Regions from separate parts of the Homo sapiens genome. Here all the other regions are linked to region 1. The links are contacts of gene promoters, found by promoter capture Hi-C in blood cells and fetal thymus (Javierre and others, 2016). All regions are on one chromosome and are shown on one strand. Each heading gives the region's core, a stretch centred on a gene start or on the middle of the fragment in contact. The rest is flanking DNA. Distances are from core to core; before and after follow the strand shown. Region 1 holds the start of PVRIG (PVR related immunoglobulin domain containing). Region 2 holds the start of AZGP1 (alpha-2-glycoprotein 1, zinc-binding). Region 3 holds the start of PILRA (paired immunoglobin like type 2 receptor alpha).

Region 1 (3,441 bases), core at 506-3,005:
TCTGGTCACTTCTCAGCATGTCCCTTCAGCTCCTATCTCTGTATGGCCTGGTTTTTCCTAGGTTATAATTGTAGAACAAAGATTATTATAATATTGGAATAAAGAGTTATGCTATAAACTAATGATTAGTAATATATATAATCATAGCTATAATCTATTTCTAGTATAACTATTCTTATTCTATGTATTTTCTTTATTATACTGGAACAGCTTGTGCCCTCGGTCTCTTGCCTTGGCAGCTGGGTGGCTTGCCTCCCACATGGCACTGCTGGGCATTGTCTGTTAATATTGAATAATTGTTTTAAGATTATTTTCAATAAGGCTTTACCTTTTTTAACTTGCACTGTGGCCATGAGCTCTGCTGGAAGTGACTTGTTGGTGTTATCTCCTCAGTTATAAAGTGAAGGGATTTTTCTTTTTCAGATTACTGAGAGTCTTCCGTTACTAGGTAAGTCACCGCATCCTTATAACTCCAGGTGACACTGACTGGGGTTTATGGGATGAAAGAGGAGTGTGTGCTTGGATGATGGGGTGTGATAGTGAAGGGGTGAAAGGTTTCTTCTCACACATAGACATCGTGAGGTCTTCCTTGAGCTCTTTAGAGCCTTCCCTCGGGATAGGATGAAATACTGAGATCCTAGAAAGGATTCACAAAACGTGTCACTCATCAGCGCAGATTCACCGATTCACCCCTAGATGTGTGTGGGATTTGGATGGCAGAGAGAAACAGGCACTGAAGATTTTTGGTCAGGACAGGGCAGAGAAATAAGAAGAGTTGAAAATTCACCAAAGGATAGATAAACCCAGGGCGTTTAGAGAAAACCTGTAGTGTGCAAAGGAGCCCAGAATCCTGGGGCAACTTGGAGGGAAATATACTTAATTTGATTCACTAAGTTAGGCCCAGTGAAGGGATTGGGTGGCATAGGTAGAAGCCGAAAAATAAAGTATCTTGTATTGCTGGAGTAGCCTCTGTTTCTGAGGTCACATCCAAACTTAGCGAGGCAGCTTAACCTGGTGAGAGACATGGGTTCAACTCCTGGCTTCTGCACTGCTAGGGCAGAGGACTGCTGTTTGCTGACACAATCTTGGTGCGTTGGAAGTGAAAGGGAAGAGGCACTGGTGGCTGTGCTTTGGGCCCGAGCAGCCAGAAGCCAGTTGCCATCACCTATGACGAGGAGACAGCGCCTGGGGCAGAGCCCAGTATGGGGTGCGTTCAGGGTAGATCAGGAGGTATGAGTGGGTAGTGGGCGAGCCAGGCTGGGGGTTGTGGGGGAGGCCTGCATTGCAGGTGTAAGCGTGGGACCCACATCAGATTGGTAGTGGGTCATGCATGCTGGGCTGGCTCTCAGGTCCTCCCTGCTGGCTTCCCACTCCCAGGGGCTTTCTCCTCCGATTCCTTAGCTGGGTGAGGGGCGGGACAGAGCCCTTTCTTAGGGAAGCCCGGCACCCCTTGCTGTCCAGGGAAGGGGAGTCCTTCTAGCCCCTGACAGCTTCTCTGCCCCTCCCCTGGCCTCCCCAGGCCTAGCCAGGGCTGGGTTCTCACCCACCTGTGCCGCCCTGCCTTGTTACCTGGAAGCACAGCCTTGGGGACTGAGCAGGCCCTCACTGTCACTTTAAGAAGGGAATCAGCCACTTTGTGCTCACCACCTCTGGGGAAGGTGTGAGAGGAGAGAAGGAAGTGGCTGTTTGGCTGCTGACAACATGAAGACTTCCTGCGATGAGAACAGAGGCACAGGTGCCGGCCCTGCAGCCCCCAGAACCTGGACTGGAGGGGGCCATGGGGCACCGGACCCTGGTCCTGCCCTGGGTGCTGCTGACCTTGTGTGTCACTGCGGGTGAGTGCCGGCACCAGAGAGGGGCAGGGGCTGCAGGGAGGGTGATGTAGGACAACAGCCCACCGACCTTGCTGCTGTTCCACAGGGACCCCGGAGGTGTGGGTTCAAGTTCGGATGGAGGCCACCGAGCTCTCGTCCTTCACCATCCGTTGTGGGTTCCTGGGGTCTGGCTCCATCTCCCTGGTGACTGTGAGCTGGGGGGGCCCCAACGGTGCTGGGGGGACCACGCTGGCTGTGTTGCACCCAGAACGTGGCATCCGGCAATGGGCCCCTGCTCGCCAGGCCCGCTGGGAAACCCAGAGCAGCATCTCTCTCATCCTGGAAGGCTCTGGGGCCAGCAGCCCCTGCGCCAACACCACCTTCTGCTGCAAGTTTGCGTCCTTCCCTGAGGGCTCCTGGGAGGCCTGTGGGAGCCTCCCGCCCAGCTCAGACCCAGGTGGGGCCGGGGCGAGGGGTCCAGGAGGGCAGGGAGGGGCTCGGGAACTGGCCACCCATCTGATTCTTGTCTCCGTGCCCAGGGCTCTCTGCCCCGCCGACTCCTGCCCCCATTCTGCGGGCAGACCTGGCCGGGATCTTGGGGGTCTCAGGAGTCCTCCTCTTTGGCTGTGTCTACCTCCTTCATCTGCTGCGCCGACATAAGCACCGGTGAGACCTGGTCCCTGTCCACGTCCCCCTGACACTGGGATGGCCACATGCCCTGCAGAGCTCTGACCATCCTTGCTCTCTCCCAGCCCTGCCCCTAGGCTCCAGCCGTCCCGCACCAGCCCCCAGGCACCGAGAGCACGAGCATGGGTGAGGAGGGGACCTGCTTTGGGGATGAGGTGACAGGGGCAGGGGCAGGGGGGCCAGGGCTGGGCCCAAGCTGTGCAGACTCACTTGACCCTCCTTCCCCCGCGCAGGCACCAAGCCAGGCCTCCCAGGCTGCTCTTCACGTCCCTTATGCCACTATCAACACCAGCTGCCGCCCAGCTACTTTGGACACAGCTCACCCCCATGGGGGGCCGTCCTGGTGGGCGTCACTCCCCACCCACGCTGCACACCGGCCCCAGGGCCCTGCCGCCTGGGCCTCCACACCCATCCCTGCACGTGGCAGCTTTGTCTCTGTTGAGAATGGACTCTACGCTCAGGCAGGGGAGAGGCCTCCTCACACTGGTCCCGGCCTCACTCTTTTCCCTGACCCTCGGGGGCCCAGGGCCATGGAAGGACCCTTAGGAGTTCGATGAGAGAGACCATGAGGCCACTGGGCTTTCCCCCTCCCAGGCCTCCTGGGTGTCACCCCCTTACTTTAATTCTTGGGCCTCCAATAAGTGTCCCATAGGTGTCTGGCCAGGCCCACCTGCTGCGGATGTGGTCTCTGTGTGTGCGTGTGTGGGCACAGGTGTGAGTGTGTGAGTGACAGTTACCCCATTTCAGTCATTTCCTGCTGCAACTAAGTCAGCAACACAGTTTCTCTGATGTCGGCCTCGGCTGTGCTTCTTCTTTGGGGGTGAAGAGAGTGGGGAGGCAGTCTCCACCCCTGGGAGGCAGAAGCCAGGTGAGAACCAGAGTGGGTTGGGGCCTCATTGCAGGGCTGGGGTTGGCCCAGGGAGAGGGCAGTGTCCCAATC
Region 2 (3,441 bases), core at 291-2,790, 240 kb before region 1:
GCAGGAAAATTGCTTGAACCTGGGAGGCGGAGGTTGCAGTGAGCCGAGATCATGCCACTGCACTCCTGCCTGGGTGACAGAGTGAGACTCTGTCTCAAAAATAAATAAATAAATAAATAATCAAATACTTTTAAAAACTAAAATAACCAAAAAAGTATAATTGGATTGTCTGTAACACAAACGATAAAAGCTTGAAGGGATGGATACCTCATTTTTGATGATGTGATTATTTCACATTGCATGCCTGAATCAAAACCTCTCATGTACCCCATAAATATATACACATACTATGCACCCACAGTTTTTTTTTTAATTTACAAAAAAATCAGTAGACCTTGAGTAAAGTGGATTACTCTCCATAGTGGTGGGCTTCATCCAATCAGTTGAAGGCCTTAAGAGAAAAAGCCTCAGATGTCCCCTAAAGAGGAAAGAATTCTGCCTACAGTCTGCCCTTGGAATCAAGACTAAGACATCAACTCTTCCCTGGGTCTCCAGCCTGCTGGCCGGCTCTGAAGATTTAGGACTTGTTACTCCTCCCAATAGTGTGAGTCAATTTCTTAAAATAAATCTCTACTCTCTCTCTCTTTTGTATACATATATGTAAATCTCTTCCTATGTGTGTGTGTATCCATGTGTATACAGTGTATGTATGTATGTGTACGTACATATATATGTATATGTGTACCACCTATTAGTTCTGTTTCTCTGGAGAACCCTGAGTAATTCAGATTTTGGCACAGAATCAGATTAACATTCCAAAGTGATTGTTATATAACAAACATATAACACCTTTTCTGACAATTTGTAAATGTCATGAATTTTAAACTCACACAACTGAGAAGCCATTCGCTTCCATGTCTTTATCCTGCACATTCTCATGCCACAAACAGCCTCCTTCCCTTATCCTAGGAGTGACTCTTGATCTCCCGGAGCTCCCACTCTCTTCTCTTCCAGCCACTCGCCTTCCAGACCCACTGCAGTGGTGTCTGAGTGTGGGATTTGGGCACGGGTTTCCTTCTAGCACCATCCCTCCAGCCAACCTGCCTTCCCACTTTCCCCTTGGGGCTGCTCTCTCTTTCCCTCAGCGTCAGGCAGGTGTACCCAGCCATCGGAAGGAGGGAAGGAACAGGAGCAGAAGCAGCTCCAGGCATATGGTTCCTACTCCGTCCTGACTGTCTACCCCAAGCAGGTCGCTTGGTCTTTGGAGTCTTTGTTTTCACTGTAAACTAGGGGTTTTAGATTCAGATTCCTGAAGGTCTTATTTCGGGCCAGCGCAGAGGCTCCCTGAATGCTCCTGGAAGTGTGTGAGCTGAGGGAGTTGACAGCCTTGGGCACCCATTCCTGCCGTATGCCAGGGTATCCCAGCTGCATCCAGCCTGTCTCCCAGCCACATGTCCTGTTCCTCACCTCCTTCCAGTCCTCTCCAGCACCCATCCCTTGCTTTCCCCACTCACCATCTTGGTTCTCCTGGGGGACAGCAGGACCCAGAAGCAGCAGCAGAGACAGCAGGACAGGCACCATTCTTACCATTGTGTCTGCTTGGAGGGTTCTGGGCAGGAGGCACAGATATTATCCTGGGTCCTGGGGCCCTGCCCAGGGGAGGTGAATCTACAGGCCAATGGGAGTGCCAGGACGGGCTCCTCCCCTAATAGAGAAAAAAAAATGATACACAAGCTAGGCTGGGCAGAGGTTATGAAGAATGAATCTACACACAGGATATGCAAATTCAGAGCTGAGTCCAGAGTTGATCTCTGGACTGAGGCTTTGTGTGTGCCTGGGGTGGAAGGATGCCAGTGGGTAGGAGGTGCGTGTGATGGGTGGCAAGCGCCTGGGATGTGTCACCCTTCCAGTCTATTGTGACAACCCCTGGGCCAGTAGGGGCATTTGTGTGTTTTTGGACCACACTGTATCCCTGCCTTCCAGAAAAACTCTCAACATGTCCAAGACATGGACCTGGGTAGACCCCAGCTGGGGTGGGACCCTCACTCTCCCACATCCGATCCTGCCAGAGGCTGTGTCTGGAGGACAGTCACATTCCCATCTCTCCCTCCTTCCTTTCTGTGCCTGTGGAATCCCAGCCTTCCATGATGGAAGCAGAAATAGCCGCATCCTCCTTTTGCAGCCTCCCTGGCAACAGAACGAGCCTCCCAAAATGCTGGGATTAAAGGCGTGAGCCACCACGCCCAGCCAAGATAATTTTTAATGCATACAACAAGACTCGTTTTACACAGACGAAGCCAGTTATTTGAAAACCAGGTCTTTCCAGGCACGCTCAGTGTTGATGGGCTATTTGCAGAGAGACCCTCCGAATACAAAGCAACATGCTATTCTAAAGTGACTGGGGCCCGGGTGCGGTGACTCATGCTTGTAATCCCAGCACTTTGGGAGGCTGAGGTGGTTGGATCACCTCAGGTTGAGGTCAGGTACTCGAGACCAGCCTGGGCAACATGATGAAACCTCGTCTCTACTGAAAAAATACAAGAATTAGCTGCGCGTGGTGGCACATGCCTATAATCCCAGCACTCAGGAAGCTGAGGCAGGGGTTTCACCATGTTGGCCAAGCTGGTTTTGAACTCCTGACCTCGTGATCTGCCCGCCTCGGTCTCCCAAAGTGCTGGGTTTACTAGTGTGAGCAACTGTGCCCAGCCTCTCTTTTGGTTAAAGAAACCTACAAAGGGACCTTTTATAGTGACTTCAATTTTATGGAATAATTGTAATGCTCCTAAGGCCGTTGTGCTCCAAAGTCTAGCCGCAGGTATTGTTATTGATTGGGCTCCAAAAGGGCATTATTGGCAAGATTGCTCCAGCAAAAATACCTCATGCTCAGAGTTTAATTATTTGTTAGATTATGTAGAGGATGGATGGCAGTCATACAGGCTGAGACAATGGGTGTCCCCTTACCTATTTAAATGGATGGATGCAGGCATTACTCCTCCTAGACCAAAAATGATTCATCCCTTTGTTACCCCAGAACATCCTCAACTATGAAAATTAGCTGCAGCTATGACAGGAATAAGGATATGGAACACTACCTATCAACTCCTTCACACTAATACCAAAACACCCACATTCAACATCACCCTCATATCTGAACGGGTGATACCCATCAGGAGCTATGTCAAACCCCCTTACATGCTGTTGGTTGGAAATATAATTATCATTCCCAATACACAAACTATAGAATGTGATAACTGTAAGCTGTTCACGTGCATTGATGCTACTTTTAATCCCACTACAAGTACTCTCTTGGTAAGGGCTAGGGAGGGGGTATGGATACCAGTTTCTTTACATCGTCCATGGGAGTCTTCCCCCTCTATTCACATAGTCAATGAAGTTCTTAAAGGTATCCGCAAAAGAACAAAGAGATTTATTTTTACTCTTATTGCCATCATTGCAGGACTAATTGCGGTTACTGCAACAGCAGCAACTGCTGGAGTTGCC
Region 3 (3,441 bases), core at 406-2,905, 150 kb after region 1:
ACCAGGGTCCCTCAGGGAGTAGAGGAAGCCAAGGGAACACAGGGGTGAGACCCTTTGTTATGCTTTCCCTGGAAAAGGCAAGGAAGGGTATGCAGGTTTAGGATTGGCTAGTTAGAATAACGTTAGCAGGCTCTGGGGATTAGAGGCTGTCATTTGTTATTTGGTGTCTGGCCCAGGATGATGAAGGCAGAGAAATACTGCCTTCTGAAGGGTGAGAGGCAGCTAGAAGAGCTGGTTCAGTGTTGGGGCCCTGGATTAGCTGGTTTGCATATGAAAGGCACACTCAGCCAGGAGCCGTGGCTCAAGCCTGTAATCCCAGCACTTTGGGAGGCCGAGGTGGGCAGATCACAAGGTCAGGAGATGGAGACCATCTTGGCCAACGTGGTGAAACCCCGTCTCTATTAAAAATACAAAAATTAGTTGGGCATGGTGGCACGCACTTGTAATCCCAGCAACTTGGGAGGCTGAGGCAGGAGAATCGCTTGAACCCAGGGGTGGAGGTTGCAGTGAGCCGAGACCGTGCCACTGCACTCCAGCCTGGCAGCAGAGTGAGACTGTTTCAGAAAAAAAAAGGGACACTCTCAGAGGGGTCATTTGCTAGCTCTAACAACTGGCTGGCTCTGGCAGGGGCAGTCCCTCTCTCTGCTCTTGGAGGTCCAAGATGCCAGAATATCAGCAATCCAGTGGGGCTTGGTGAGGTGGCTCACACCTGTCATCCCAGCACTGAGGGAGGCCGAGGCAGGAGGATTGCTTAAGCCCAGGAACTTGAGACCAGCCTAGACAACATAGTGAGACCCCATCTCTCAAAAAAAAAAAAAAATTAGCCGTGTGTGGTGGTGTGTGCCTGTGGTCTTCACTACTTGGGAGGCTGAGGTCAGCAAATTGCTTCAGCCCAGGAGTGATGGTGATCGCGTCCCTACACTCCAGTCTGTGGACACTCTAGTACCTTGAGGACAGTACAGCCTGATTACAGAAGCTTTACAGCAAGTCTTGAAGTCAGGTATTATAAATCTTCCACCTTCATTCTTCATTTGTAAAGGCCTTTTGGCTATTCTAGGTCCTTTGAATTACTGTGAGAATATTACAGTTGGCTTGTGAACTCCACAAAGCCTATGGGATGTCGATTGGGATCAGAGGAAAGCAGGAACGGTGGGTGCCAAGGAGAGGTGAGGGGCTGGGGGCAGGGACGGATGTGGCCAGTGAGGACAGTAGGATACTTGTTGGGGGAATGTGGGGACATCCAAGCAGTGGTTCTCATAATGCGGTGCAGGGTACTTACCCCCTCCCTGCCCCTGCTCCCCACACACGACTTCCCACGCCTCTCCCATGAGCACCTGCACTAAGGGGCTGCATTTAGGCTCTGCCCACATTGGAATCATGCCCTCCTCCAGGCCCTCCTCCTCCTCTCAGAAGCCCTGTCTGTGAGAGAGCCACAGCCCCAGGCTCAGTCCCAGGTTCTGTCACTGCTGTTGGGGGAGGGAGGATGAACAAATCCAGGAGACCTCACACCATCCCAGAGCAGAAATCCTGACACAGAAGGAATCTCCCATGGGGGTTCAGCTGGATCCAGGGCCTGAAAGTGACATAAACATGCATGTTGCATCTAAGGAGACTGCACGTGGCAGCATTGGGCAGCATGTGCCCTCCAGAGCTACCCAGAGGCTGTTGGCTATAAGTTCTATGTGGCCCCCACATTGGACAGCCTGGTAAGCAGGTGACCTTTCAGCCAGGTCCTCAGGTGGGGCGGGCCACCCTCTCGAGGCCCTGCCCAGACAGCCAGGGGGTCCCTTGTCCTCTCTGCAGCCCATCTTTCCAGCTGTGACCAGTTCAGCCCAAAGCCCCCGTCCCTCAGTTTCCCTGTGGGTTGAATGGAGATAATGTGTCACCTCAGAATGTTGTGAAGCAGAGAATGAGGTGTTTAGGGCCTGGCTCAGACGGAGGGGTTTCCTGAGCATGGGGAACCTGTTTCCTCAGGCCTGTAAAGGGAGGGAGGGCGGGCCGGCCTGGCTGGCCCTGGGAAGCACAGAGGAGCCTACTAGGACCAGGGAAGAGACTAAGAGAAGGGAGGCCCGTCCCTGCCTGCTTCTGTCTCAAGAAGGCTGATGTCACTTCCTCTGATGAAATCCTGTCTTCCCCCACGGCCCCTCAACTGATGCCACCTCACCCTGGAGAGGGTGGGCAGAGCCTCCTACGGAGGGAGCCCTGTGCACCACCAAAGCTCCCTGCTCCAGTGACCACCCCCGGGCAAAGGCCGGCAGATCCCCGTTAGAGATGGGCCCAGGACTGTGTGTGGGGTGGGTGTTGCTCTGAGCCTTCACTTTCTTCTGTGTCCAAGGAAGCTTCTGGATCAGCCAAGGGCTCAGGTGTGTGGAGGGAATGACCTGAGGGGCTGTATGAAGGGACAGCCTCCTGTCCTGCACTCAGAAGTTGAGGCCCAGAGATTCCACCCTTCAGCCAGGCCCAGACATCTGGGTTGAGGGGGCTCCAGTCCTGTACCCACTACTGCAAGTCACGTGGCCTGGGGCAGGGCTTCTCAGAGCCCTGTCCCCTCCTGTGTAGGGCGGGACGTCAGAGGGGAGCCTGCAGACCCAGTCTCATGTCTTGGGGGTCAAGGGGTGGCTTCCAGAAGGACCAGTCTCTGTGTAGGGGACCATTAGCCCCCTCACCCCTTGAGCAAGGTCGTGGTGCCTGCACCGAGAGAGGGCCTGGGGCAGGAAGAGGCCAGCTGGGTCGTGGTGGTGCCTGGGGACTGCATGGGAGCCCCTGCCAGGGAGGGAGAGGGACAGAGGACAAGCTGGGGGCTCTTCTGCTTGGGCTGGGGGCTGAGCACCTGTGACCTCCACCGGCTTCCTTCTCCTCCTCTCTGAGGACTGAATCTGGGGCGCAGAAGGACAGAGATTCAGGCCTGCCTTTCCTCTCCCTGAAAGAGCCTGCGCTGGCCCTGGGCAGAGAGAAGGATGAGAAGTGAGGCTGAGTGAGGTGGGGTCTGCAGGGATCCAGGTGGGAGGGGCCCAGCCAGCCAAGGTCAGGCCCAGCCCCCCAAGGTCAGGCCCAGCCCCTCGGCAGGAGGACGGGGACCGCGGCCTTTGGGCAGGGCTGACTTGGCACTGACCACAAGGGAGGCCCTTTTGCAATAGGGGAAAATAAGCCAGATGGATAAAGGAAGTGCTGGTCACCCTGGAGGTGCACTGGTTTGGGGAAGGCTCCTGGCCCCCACAGCCCTCTTCGGAGCCTGAGCCCGGCTCTCCTCACTCACCTCAACCCCCAGGCGGCCCCTCCACAGGGCCCCTCTCCTGCCTGGACGGCTCTGCTGGTCTCCCCGTCCCCTGGAGAAGAACAAGGCCATGGGTCGGCCCCTGCTGCTGCCCCTACTGCCCTTGCTGCTGCCGCCAGCATTTCTGCAGCCTAGTGAGTACCCAGGACCACCCAGATGTGGGCTCT

The links. Contacts are between HindIII fragments. The CHiCAGO score rates a contact against its expected background, and 5 or more counts as called.
Region 2: the fragment with the promoter of AZGP1 here is called in contact with the fragment with the promoter of PVRIG in region 1 in 9 of 17 cell types (neutrophils, total CD4 T cells, non-activated CD4 T cells and 6 more); the score reaches 17.8 in neutrophils.
Region 3: a fragment that was not itself captured here is called in contact with the fragment with the promoter of PVRIG in region 1 in 1 of 17 cell types (activated CD4 T cells); the score reaches 5.6 in activated CD4 T cells.

What each region holds. Positions count from the first base shown.
Region 1 is chr7:100,218,194-100,221,634 of GRCh38, forward strand. PVRIG (PVR related immunoglobulin domain containing) reads left to right here and starts at 1,756. Exons shown (of 5, transcript NM_001397246.1): 1 at 1,756-1,835; 2 at 1,921-2,271; 3 at 2,354-2,480; 4 at 2,567-2,627; 5 at 2,735-3,297. The coding sequence starts at 1,778. The coding sequence ends at 3,058. It also overlaps a transcript of STAG3 not described here and the pseudogene CASTOR3P. RefSeq lists enhancers at 1,646-1,775, 1,836-1,905, 3,296-3,395, 3,416-3,441 and a silencer at 2,826-2,875. The HindIII fragment of the contact is 24,869 bases long and covers 1-3,441 here.
Region 2 is chr7:99,974,491-99,977,931 of GRCh38, forward strand. It overlaps AZGP1 (alpha-2-glycoprotein 1, zinc-binding), which reads right to left and starts at 1,541. Exons shown (of 4, transcript NM_001185.4): 1 at 1,455-1,541. The coding sequence starts at 1,530. The HindIII fragment of the contact is 13,516 bases long and covers 189-3,441 here.
Region 3 is chr7:100,370,313-100,373,753 of GRCh38, forward strand. It overlaps PILRA (paired immunoglobin like type 2 receptor alpha), which reads left to right and starts at 3,175. Exons shown (of 7, transcript NM_013439.3): 1 at 3,175-3,408. The coding sequence starts at 3,345. RefSeq lists an enhancer at 92-843. The HindIII fragment of the contact is 1,363 bases long and covers 975-2,337 here.